2 separate regions of the Homo sapiens genome follow, and region 1 is linked to region 2. The links are contacts of gene promoters, found by promoter capture Hi-C in blood cells and fetal thymus (Javierre and others, 2016). All regions are on one chromosome and are shown on one strand. Each heading gives the region's core, a stretch centred on a gene start or on the middle of the fragment in contact. The rest is flanking DNA. Distances are from core to core; before and after follow the strand shown.

Evidence for each region. Contacts are between HindIII fragments. The CHiCAGO score rates a contact against its expected background, and 5 or more counts as called.
Region 1: a fragment that was not itself captured here is called in contact with the fragment with the promoter of GLRX in region 2 in 2 of 17 cell types (M2 macrophages and M1 macrophages); the score reaches 9.3 in M2 macrophages.

Annotation. Positions count from the first base shown.
Region 1 is chr5:96,292,087-96,298,500 of GRCh38, forward strand. All of the region lies in intron 1 of LOC101929710 (a long non-coding RNA gene), which reads left to right. It also overlaps a transcript of CAST not described here. Among named protein-coding and RNA genes, the nearest start is that of PCSK1, 140 kb to the right of the region's middle. The HindIII fragment of the contact is 3,188 bases long and covers 2,892-6,079 here.
Region 2 is chr5:95,820,099-95,825,745 of GRCh38, forward strand. It overlaps GLRX (glutaredoxin), which reads right to left and starts at 2,628. Exons shown (of 3, transcript NM_001118890.2): 1 at 2,358-2,628. The coding sequence starts at 2,564. RefSeq lists enhancers at 1,000-1,139, 3,056-3,145, 3,376-3,876. The HindIII fragment of the contact is 7,969 bases long and covers 1-5,647 here.

The DNA of each region.
Region 1 (6,414 bases), core at 3,236-5,735, 470 kb after region 2:
GCAAACACTGGAAGAAAAAAGACGCATATGTTAATATCTCAAAGATGATATCACTACAAACAGAGGCTTCAAGCTTTACCCTGATTTTGTCCTAAAATTATATGTGAATAGATGCTATCCAAAGGTCAGAGTAGGCATCAAGAATGAAATTTAAACAGAGCTTCGAGACTTCTGTAGATCCTAGGTATTTTGGAAAACCCGTAACATCCATCCTTAGGACTCCGTTTCCAATAAGAGCTTCTCAGTTGTATAACGTAAATATGTTTTAATGTCATAATAACTACTGAATTGTTTTAAACCTTTCACAAATGTAGACAAATTAGTTCTCAACGTTATCTGTTGAATGCACAGGCCACTGGTCTTATCACCTGGAGAGTTGTTAAAATTGCTGGTGCCCAAGCTCTACCCCCAACAAGCCCAATTCAGACTGAATTGCCTCTGTTTTATCTAAGGTTGTGACTTTGAGATTATTCCTTAAGACTTATTCACCTACTAAATAATGGGTTAATGTTCTCACAAGGTGATTATGTTGATTTTGGAATTAATACTAAAGTTAGGAGAATGGGATGATTATTAACTGGGAGAATTTTGTCTTTTAGTAGCTCATACAGTGCTAAATAATTTACAAAGTTCTATCAGATAATGAGACTGACGCGCTGCCCACTGCGTCACAAGGATGACCCAAACACTGTCACAGAATTAGAGTCAACACAGAGGAAGTGGAGTGAAGGGATAGGGAGCGACACTTAATTCTGATGACAGCAGCTATTCACTTAAAGCCTGTATACATGAAACAATAAATTCCCTTTTTGATTAAGCCAGCTGGAGTTTGGTTTTCTGACGTCTTCATTAAAGAGTCCCGACTGATATAGTTCTCCACAAATAGTTGTTGAATAAATGTTTGAATGGAAAATCAAAGTACGAATAGGGGTGGAGGAGTGCAAACAGCAGCCAACTCCTCCTAATATTCTTCTCTGGCCGGGATTCAACCCTGTCATGTTGCACAATTCCAGTGGCCTCCATTCACATGATCTAGAATATGAATGGTGCCAGCTCCTCCCCCAGAGGTGTACAAGGCAGCCCTGAGGGGAGGTTAGGGTGGAATGGCAGAAAATCTGTGGTTCTTAGTTCTTGAGCCTTTAGATCATGGAGTCCCATTTCCCAGAAGCAGAAAGGCTGGTCTCTAGATTTTGTTTGTTTGTTTGTTTTGAGACAGAGTTTCACTCTTTTTGCCCAGACTGGAGTGCAGTGGCACGATCTCAGCTCACTGCAACCTCCACCTTCCGTTTCAAGTGATTCTCCTGTCTCAGCCTCCCGAGTAGCTGGGATTACAGGCACCCACCACCACGCCCCGGCTAATTTTTGTATTTTTAGTAGAGATGGGCTTTACCATGTTTGTCAGGCTGGTCTTGAACTCCTGACCTTGTGATCTGCCTGCCTCAGCCTTCCAAAGTGCTGGGATTACAGGCATGAGCCACCGCGCCTGGCCTCTAGATTCTTTTGTGTTGTGAGTTCATTAATCTTTAGGGGTTCCTCTTTCTTCTCCTTCCAGAGAACTCTAGAAGCACTCAATTTGACTATACTAAGATAGTATTTAGAATATGTGTATTGTTTATAAAAGCTTAGGCCTCATCGTCATATAGTGATGCATAATATAAGTAAATGCCAGATTATTATTATTATTATTTTGAGACACAGTCTTGCTCTGTCGTCCAGGCTGGTGTGCAGTAGCCCAATCTCAGCTCACTGCAACCTCTGCCTCCTGGGTTTTAAGCAATTCTCTCTGCCTCAGCCTCCCGAGTAGCTGGGATTACAGGCACCCAACACCACGCCTGGCTAATTTTTGTATTTTTAGTAGAGATGGGGTTTCACCATGTTGGCCAGGCTGGTCTTGAACTCCTGACCTCAGGTGATCCACCAGCCTCAGTCTCCCAAAGTGCTGGGATTACAGGCATGAGCCACTGTGCCTGGCCCTGAATTATTTTTATTGTAAGTTTCATTCTATTCAAATATTTATTTTACTGAGTCAACTCATTTTTGACTCAATGTATTGCTATGTAAAATGTTCAACTAGCTAACAACTTAAAAAAATTAGATCATGTGCTATCTCTATGCATTGACTTGGGCTGTCTTTTCCTCTGCCTTTGTGTTTATTTCATTCCTATATATAACTCTTTTGGACTTAGAGTCACAATGGTTTGAAGAAAATATGTGGAAGAAAACTGACCTGTTGTTTTTATTTTTAAATTTGCAGTATGCTTCTTCAATGTAGCTCACCTCAGGGAGCATTTTAGAAGTCTTTTCCTGGAATCCTATGAACCCTATGGCATAGAGTTTTATAAATGACTGTTTTGGTTTGACTAGCATGGGTCCACCTGAACCAGTTCTCACTGTAATGTCCAGGAAGTTGATTTGCTTTTCTCTGTCTACACAGAAGAAACACATGTTGTGTAGAAAAGAAATTGCCAGTCTCTGAACATTTCCCTTTGCAGTGTCTGATATAGAAATCTGTAAGCATTTATGCAGATTCTAGAAATATTTGATCTTTCAATATTTTTGCAAGTGTCCAAACCTAAGTGATATGTTTATATACATTTTCTCATTTAAAACAACTAAGTCACCAGCTAAGGTTGCCAGCATTTCGTTGACTATTTCTAGCCGCCAGGCTTTGGAAAGGTCACTCTACTTCACATGGTAGAGGAAAGTAAATAGTTCTGTGCAGCTGTCAGCATAGAGGCCTTCTCACTTGATGTTATTTTCATCCTGTATTGAAATGCTCTATTTCCTGTAACATTAAGTTTTCCAAAATAGAGGGAGAGCAAGGCATATAATATTTGTCTGCTCATGTCACCTTACCCAGGCTACTGGGCACATAAGCATCTCCAGAGGAAAGCTTCATTAGTTGATAGGGAAACAGTCACCAATGTTGTGTTTCTCTATCTGTGGATCATTCACTACAAAGGGAAAAGCTGCTTCCCTGTATTTGTTACTATGGAGAATACTGAAGCAAACAAACTAGTAGAAATTCTCAATAAGAAACTCAAATGCATAATGGAAATAACTTTGTTTTTTTCATGAAGAAAAATAATTGTTACCTTGAGTAACTATAGTGCTTTTTGAATCTCTCTTTTGAATCGAATGCCCCCCATGGAGATGTAGTAAAAATGAACTACTGCTTTTGTGCCTGAGTGGGATAAGCTGATTTTCGAAGGAGACATGCTTGACTTTGGTCCATGTCACACTATTTAGAGGGTGATGGAAAAGTAGTACAATGCAACCTCTTTGAACCAATGAAATCACTGAGGACTTTATGCCCTGGGCATGACACACTTCTTTCAAAAATGGGATTTGATAATGACATTGACAGTGGTAAACAAAAGTGTCTCTTCACTAATTTGAAGACGAGACAAACGATATTTGGAACAAGAGGTTAGTTCCTTATTGCCTAACAGAATTGGGGTGTATCAAATCTTTACTAACTTAGTCATCTCTGAATATTTTAGTCTAGGAAACCAAAATATGTTCGTATCGACCTACGATATTTCTTCAGCTAATGATTACTTCTTTCAGATAATATAACTGGGGATTTATTTGAAATTTTTCCTACTTGCCAGACATAATGGAGATTGAAAAAAATAAGTGTCAATGAAACCGGAATGACAAAAAAGTCCTATGAGAAGTGTCACGTAAAGCAGACTGCTTGTTTCAAAATATTGAAAGTGGAAAAAATACACGAAATGGTATGAGCAGTAAGATGTCCAATTTTGTGTACAAAGGGCATCATGTATGCACACATATATATATATGCACACACACATACACAGACTAAATTGAAAGACTCTGAGTTAACAGTTGTTATGTCTAAATGTGGTATTATAGAAGATTTTAACTCTCTTCTTTGTACTTTACTATATTTTTCAAATGTTCTACCATGAACAGTTGTTACTTTTATAATTAGAGAGAATATAAATGCTATAAAATTCCTAAAGTTTTGTGCAAATGTTTTGTATAGTTTTTCCTGTTTAAGAGGAGCTGTATTATTTCAAGTATAAAACTAGCCAACATGCAAAAAATCTAATTGGATTTCAGATCCCACATTACAATGTTTCCTTCTACAGGGTTTGCTACATTCTCCGGCCTGGTTAGATCCTCTTTTATTTCTCTACATCATGGTCTTTTCACTAGAAATAATACAGTATCTTTGACTTTGCTAGTACCTTCCATTCTTCCCACTGAAAATTGATGTCTGTTAAGTCCCTTTAAAATGTGTTACAAAACCATCTTCAGGAGGCCTTTTCTGGCTAAACCTATCCTAGTTTGATTACTTTCTAATGTAAATCTTCAGCTTATATGTATTAAATTCATAAGATATTACTTTATGGTTGTTGTCATATTGTTTTATAATTCTTTGCAAATTATTTTCTGTTGAAGCATCCTTTTGTGTCTGGAGAATAAATTCTCAGATTATAGAGGATAGGTCTTTGCTATTTTTGTTACCTGCAAAACAACCTGAAGAGTGAATCTATACAAATTTCATGATGCTAAAAATAGATAGTATCAGATAAACCAAGAATCTTGTGAATTGAAACTGAGCAGAGATATTTGGGTAAATTTCTGACTCCTAGTTGCTGGTTGTGTTAACTCTCTGCTGATGTCTGCTCAACTGTGTTGGTTATATCCAGGCTATTGTAATACTGCAGGTTTGGAGGAAAATGTGTCTTTGCTATCTGTTCCTCAGTTTTAATCATGGACTGGTTTTCAGTAACAGAAATGCTAGGAAGTTGTCCCAACTTCAGATTTCATAATGGCTTGCTGACTACCCTCTTGGGCCCTAACTGATGCTTTTCTATTGCTTCTCTACATTCGATAATATTTGGTAATTGGGTTTGCATTACTCTGAATTGTTTTTATGTCTTCTGGTGTCAGTTATAAAATCATAAGAGTTGTAAAACTGGAGTATATTTTCAGTGTGAACAATTAATTACATTCTCTTAGAAAGATTTTAATGCACAAGATAGAAATTAGTTCATTTTTTACATATTTAGACAGCTTTCTGTTCCAGTAGGTTATTTTGTCACTGATGTGTAGCATTTGATAAAGAGTCAGAATTAGCTGGAAAGTTTTGAGCAGGGAATTAATATGACTGAGTGGTTGTCCTTTCCAGGAGAATGTTTTTGAAAGGGAAATTCAAGGAACAACAACTGCTTTATTCAAACGAATAATTTGAGGAAAAACTTGGGGGTAGAGAAGGAAGCAACCTAATAGACAATTTCTTATTTCTACTCTGAGTAAGGTTTTCCTCCATATCCAACCAGATGTAGCAGTGTGTGTGTCTGGTGGCTTTGCTGTTGCTGTGGCAAGCTGCTGCTGGTGAGGGAGAGAACTGGGGTGATGTCATCCCTTCCCTCATCCCAACCTAGATGCTTGACATGAAACAGCTCTTGGGATGAGATTTTTGCAGCAACTCTATCAACCCATGGCACATTTTTTTATGCTCTCCTCATGTCTTGCTGTTAACTAAGCAGGAAGATAAACCTGAGCCAGTGGGAATTAGAAATATATCCTTTGCTAGTGACAGAGGAGGCAAAGATGAACTAGGCTCAAGTAATCTGAAATAGCTATCATTTTTTGTTTGCTTTTATTCTTTTTTTTTCTTTATCTTAAGTAGTGGTATGGCTATGCCTGGCTTCCACGTTTTTAAATCCTAGTAGAACCAACAAAATTTTTCTTCATAGTTTATGGTGTCTTTCCTATAAGACCCGGGAGCACTATATGCAGAACAATTTCTAAATAGAATGCTTGTAAGCAAGTTAGAAATGACTAGAGTTCATCTCCTATGGTCTTTTTTGTGGTGAATGTGCGGGTGCTCTCAGAGAATAGAGAAATGTAGAAGCATCTGATTCACATTCATTTCACTCCAGCCAAACTCCAGTCTTACCACATATACAGATCTGTTGCCACATGGTATTTGCTTAATGCTAAATAGAAATCTTGCTAAACTTTAAACATGTGCGTGTAGCCTGATGACCCTAGGCCCACAGGAATCTTACACAATTCATCCTGGACTTGTTGGAAAAGAAGCTTCTCTGTAGCAATGGTGCAAAACCTGTAAGCCACCGTTACAAAACAGGATGTAAACAATCCAGAGGCCTGGGCTCAGAATATTCTCTTTCTCCTCTTTTGACTTTAAATCTATTTCTTTTAGTTTCTGCTTAGTAAGAAGTGCTCATAGCTGAGTAATACAGACCACCCTTGCTAGACAATCCAATAAATTAATCTTTGTTTCAAATTGCTATTTGGCAGTCATTAACACGGGATAAGAGTAATTGGTCAACTAGATGGCAGAGACAGAATTCTGGATGCAGAAAGGGTATTTGACTTCATTTCTCACTGTTGAAGTAATTGTACTTATTT
Region 2 (5,647 bases), core at 1,378-3,877:
CCCAGCACTCTGGGAAGCTGAGGTGGGAGGATAGCTTGAGGCCAGGAGTTCAAGACCAGCCTGGGTAACATAACAAGACCCCCATCTGTACAAAAACTTAAAAAATTAGCTGGGTATGATGGCTCATGCCTGTAGTCCCAGCCACGGGAGGCTGAGGTGGGAGGGTCACTTAAGCCCAGGAGTTCGAGGCTGCAGTCAGCTATCATTGCACCACTGCACTCTAGCCTGGGTGACAGAGCAAGACTCTGTCTCTTAAAAAAAAAAAAAAAAAAAAAAACCTTAAAAGATTACTACAAGAAATATTGTTGTTCTACAAAGAAATGAAAAAGCAATTGTTGACCAGGTGTGGTAGCTCACACCTGCACTTTGGGAGGCTGAGGTGGGTGGATCACCTGAGGTCAGGAGTTCGAGACCAGGTTGGCCAGCATGGTGAAACCCCATCTCTAATAAAAATACAAAAATTAGCTAGGTGTGGTGGCAGGTGCCCGTAATTCCAGCTACTTGATTGCTTGAACCTGGGCGGTGGAGGTTGCAGTAAGCCAAAATCACACCACTGCACTCCAGCCTGGGCGACAAGAGCGAAATTCCATCTCAAAAAAAAAAAAAAAGCAATTGTTAAATGAACACATGAAGAGGTTTGCTTTACCTCCTGGAAAATAGATGCTGTTGGGCTGAGAACAATAATCCCAATTGTGTTGCACATTGGAATCCCCAAGGGATTTTTCCAAATAAAAATCCCAGGTGTGGTGGCTCACCCGTTTAATCCCAGCACTTTGGGAGGCCGAGGTAGGTGGATCGCCTGAGGTCAGGAGTTCGACACCAGCCTGGCCAACATGGTGAAACCCCGTCTCTACTAAAAATACAAAAATTAGCTGGGCATGGTGGTGGGCGCCTGTAATCCCAGCTACTTGGGAGGTTGAGGAGAACCCAGGAGGCAGAGGTTGCAGTGAGCCAAGATTGCACCATTGCACTCCAGCCTGGGTGACAAGAATGAAACTGTCTCAAAACAAACGAACAAACAAAACTAATGCTTGGCTCCCACCTCTGACATTGTGATTTAGTTATTGAGGGGCATAATTTGGGCATAAGGATTGTTTTAAAAGCTCTCTAGGTGATCCTAATGTGCAGCAAAGTTTGGGAACCAATGGCTAAAAGGTCCTCAGGGTGGCAGCCACAGTGGGGCCCGTAGTAGTGTTTGCACTGCCCTTTACACCTCTCAGGGCCTGGGCATCCTATGCAGCTGGTGGTCCCACTAGGCAGCAAGAGCTTCTCTCGTCATTGTGTATACTCCAGGACCTCAGCACACAGCAGTAGGATAACACACTAAGCCCCCTTTCTGCACCAAAATGCTGACTTCTTATTAGAGAGAAGGGGAGAGAAACAACCTCCAATGCTTTATACTCAGAACCCAGAGACAACCTTGTAAGTCAAACTAAAACTGAAATAGGATATGTGCTTGGCCTAACACTGTGCTGTAGAATTCGTGCATCGTAAAAGAGAACTTAGCTGAGCTGGTGGGACATTTCTCATCCCACCTCACAGCAGAACTGATACAGGTGATGTGGCTGGCATCCCTCCTGAAGCCCAGGACGCAAAGCCAAGGATGCTGAAGAGAGGGAAGTCTTTCGGATGGAGGAGAGCAATTTTTAGAGGGTCCCACAGTCTATTCGTAGCAAATGGGACTCTGAGGTCACCTAATCTGGTCTTGCAGCTGGGATCTTTGAGGACTACTGGGGTGGTGACTTGCCCAGGATCACACAGCCAGCCATTATAAGAGCCAGGCCAGAACTCCAGGCTATGATTCCCTACAATGTGGGGCCTGGAAACATCCATAATTAATTTAGAACAAGGGGCAGATAACGGTACATTAGATTTTTCCAGTGGGAGGAATTAGATAAGGAAGAATGAGCAAATTAGAAAAAGAAAGCCTAGAGAAAAGAATGAAGAACATGAATCTCATGTTAAATAACAAACACATCACACCCGGCCCTCCACCCCAGCTTCCACCTCCAGCCCTGCCAACTGAAAACTGTCATTTCCTGGCAGTGCTTAAAACAAAGACTCTAGATAATTCCCCAGGGACTCACCGGCAAGCTGCTGGTCCCACTTACCCTGCCGCACAGCAGACATCAGCTGTACTCCCTCTTCTGCCCCGTGAAGACCTTTGGCTGCAGTGCCGCCGCTCATTCAAGTGACCGAGATCCTCTCTAAGGCGCCCTCCCCCACACCCCCCGCCCCGCACAGCCCTCTGGACGCCTTGAAGTACGGAGCCGCAGCCTTATCCTAAAGAAAGGCACAGCTCTGACAAGAAAAGGCAATCCGGGAGCCTTTCCCTAGCCGTTTAAAATGAAACTCACCGTTCTTGCTCCCGTGAGCTGTTGCAAATAATCTTGAATCTCGTTAGTGTGGTTGGTGGCTGTGATATCGACAAATTCCAGAAGCCCTTGTTTGATGGGCAATTGACTGAGGATCTCTTGGGCCCTCCTGCAGTACGGGCAGGTGGGCTTGATGAACACAACCACCTTCCCAGGCTGGATTTTGCAGTTCACAAACTCTTGAGCCATGCCGATGGGCTGCGGTCTCCCCGGGAAGAATCCTCAGTTGCAGGTATTGCTTGGGGTATTGAGCCCCGACCCAGCCAGTTGGCTCCTATTTAATAAGGAACCTCCCTGGAGGCGGAGTTTGCCTGGTAGCTTGCTCGAGTTTTAAAGGGACAGCTTCGAAGACATTTCCATCTGGTATACTTCACTAGTTAGCAATGCCCAGGAATGCAATACTTGCTATTTAATCATTGGTAGCTATGAAAGACACTCTGGGTATCTTTGTTGTCCTTGGACATTTGGGGAGTGCCTGCCCATTGGCAATGATCAGAGTTTAGTCACCTCTGGGGAAGCATAAAGTGCTTACTCACAAAGGGGCTGAGGAGGCAGTGACTTCTTAGAGCAAATTCTTGTTTTCCCTCTAGGAGATACAGTTGTATTTTAAAATGCAAACAGAATCACTTAAGAAACAGAACACTTGGAAATCTCTTTAGAAGAAGTGAAATTGAAACTGTGACTTTGCACTCCTCATGAAGGTTGCTCTCACAGCATTTTGCTTGGACTGTATGGTGGGTGTTTGTTGTTGTGATCTTTTTAATGGAATTCATTCTCAGTATTTAAAAATCTGGAGGTCTCACAAAACAATTCGGACTTAAAACTTCTCTCTGAAAAGTCAGGTCGGGCAATACAGAGCTTGCACCTTTTAGTGGAAGCTGCTGGGGCTGACAGCTGTTGCCCCCTTTGTATAGGGCAAGTAGTGGCTTTGGTTTGCCACAGGTCCCAACGACAGGCCCATGCCTGAGACACCGGCTTCACCCCATAACCATTTGAGTTGGTAACCCTTGAACAGCAGTTTAATATGGAGGCAAATTCCAACACAATCCTTGATACAAAACTACAGATGAAATGAGAATCTTTTTTTCTGGTTGAGCCTATGTTTGTGACCCTCTGCTTTTAACTGTTTGTGAGGGGAAGTAGTGTTGTAACTCAGACACCACATTCACTTCAAGTGTTATAAGACACGGGTTGTAACAGTAGGAAATCTTTCGCTCTTCCCCAGGGTGCCCATTCTCCTTATCCCGCAAAGCAAAGTCCTCTACTCCTGGGTCTAGTTCCGGCCCCCTCTAGTGTATGGTAGCTTAAATAAACAAATCAAGGAAAAACTATGTCCTTTAAACGTGAATCATCCTTTCCCCAGGAAGTTTTATGGTGAAACCAGAGTATCTTCAAAGAGGCGGGGCCAAGGCCAGAGCTGGACACCACGACTGCCACGTAAGAGGAATCCCAAGCATACTGCGATCAAGGGAAGGGAAGAAAATCCACTCCCAGAAGCAGCTTTTTACTGTGACTCTCATCGTTACTAGAATTAAAATGGCAAAATGAGAAAGCCAGATTCTGAGTCACGGAGGGGGAGCTAAGTGACAGCTCTGTCCAGAGAAAAGGATGTGGCAGGGCTGGGAGGCCCCTCACGTGGTCAGGGCTCCGGACTTCCCACTTCCCACTTCCCTCCAAAGTAGGCTCTGCCACAGAGTCTGAGCCTCCTCTCTTTTTTCATTCTTTTACCTCAGAACCCTGTGGCCAGGCTCCTTCCAGAGGCCCCTGCCAGGAGGTCCAGGGTCTGTTTCAGGGCCCTCAGGCTGTTGCCTTAAGTTCCCTCAGCCTGAGGTTTATCCACACGACTTGCACCTGCTACTCACTCAGAGCCTTTCTCTTCTCCGGTCTGTTGTTGGCTCCTCCCTTCCTGGTGCCTCAGCCTGCCACTGTGTTCAAGTTAAAAGCCACCACCACCACCACCACTCCCCATTTCCTGCTTTCCTGCCTCTGCCCTTTCATGAAATTTACTGTCTGTACCTTTCTCACCTCCATTCTCTCATTTTGTTGTTATCTGACCTTGTCAACCATTCTGCTGAATTGTTGGCAGACACTAATCATGGCCTCTATGTCACCAAATGACCATTTAGCTAGGTATCCTGACCTTTTGCAAATTAGTCACCTGCCCCAAGAGGCTGGGATCCAGGGAGACTATTGTCTGCCTCTCACTCAGTCCCGGGGACTGCCTGGTGTCTGAAGCCTTAGGACAGATGGCCATAAGGCACAAGCTAAAGGCAATTTTTTTGTGAGGCACCATGTGGAAAATGGGAGACAAAGAGATGGCAAAGAACGGGTGTCCTCTCCATTTCTCAGAAAATGCTGTGGCTTCAACTCAGTGAAAAATGACAAGCATAGAAGCCTCTGCTGCATTGTACAGCAGGAGCTGAAACCCAGCATGGACCTTAGGGCATCTCAATGGAAAGCCGCCATGGGGACTGCAGATGCGTCAAGTGCTGTGGATGGAAAGAGGGTGTGCGTGTGGACTAACACGTGTGGACTCTCCTTTGGCTTGTGTGAGACACTCCCAGGCACTCTCAGAAAATACACCTTGGAGGGTGGGAAGTGAGGGCATTTTTTAGGGGAGAATCAGTCCTGCTTTACAGATGGTTGGCAACAAGCTAGTGAAATATGTGTGGTTACTCTTTTTTTTTTTTTTTTTTTTTTTGAGACGGAGTCTCACTCTGTTGCCCAGGCTGGAGTGCAGTGGCACGATCTCTGCTCACTGCAAGCTCCGCCTCCCGGGTTCACACCATTCTCCTGCCTCAGCCTCCTGAGTAGCTGAGACTACAGGCACCCGCCACCATACCCGGCTAATTTTTTGTATTTTTAGTAGAGACGGGGTTTCACCGTGTTAGCCAGGATGGTCTCGATCTCCTGACCTCGTGATCTGCCCACCTCAGCCTCCCAAAGTGCTGGGATTATAGGCGTGAGCCACCGTGCCCGGCCAATGTGACTTCATTTGTACTCACAGGCTGATGAGGGCTGCAAAAAATGTGGCCACAAACGAACATTCTTCAGGGTTTTTCCTTACCCACTGTGCAGGGTTTGACCTTGTAGATCACTGCAGGCCTCTGGAAGTTCTCTTCCCACTGCCCATTGCAGCATGATCTTTTTGCTCTTTCTATTGGATATTGTCTCAGTGTCTTTGTTAAGAATTTTGCCTACACATATGGTCTATCTTGGGGCTTGATCTTCTCATTGTGTACACACCCACTCCTTGAGAGGTCGTAGCTCCA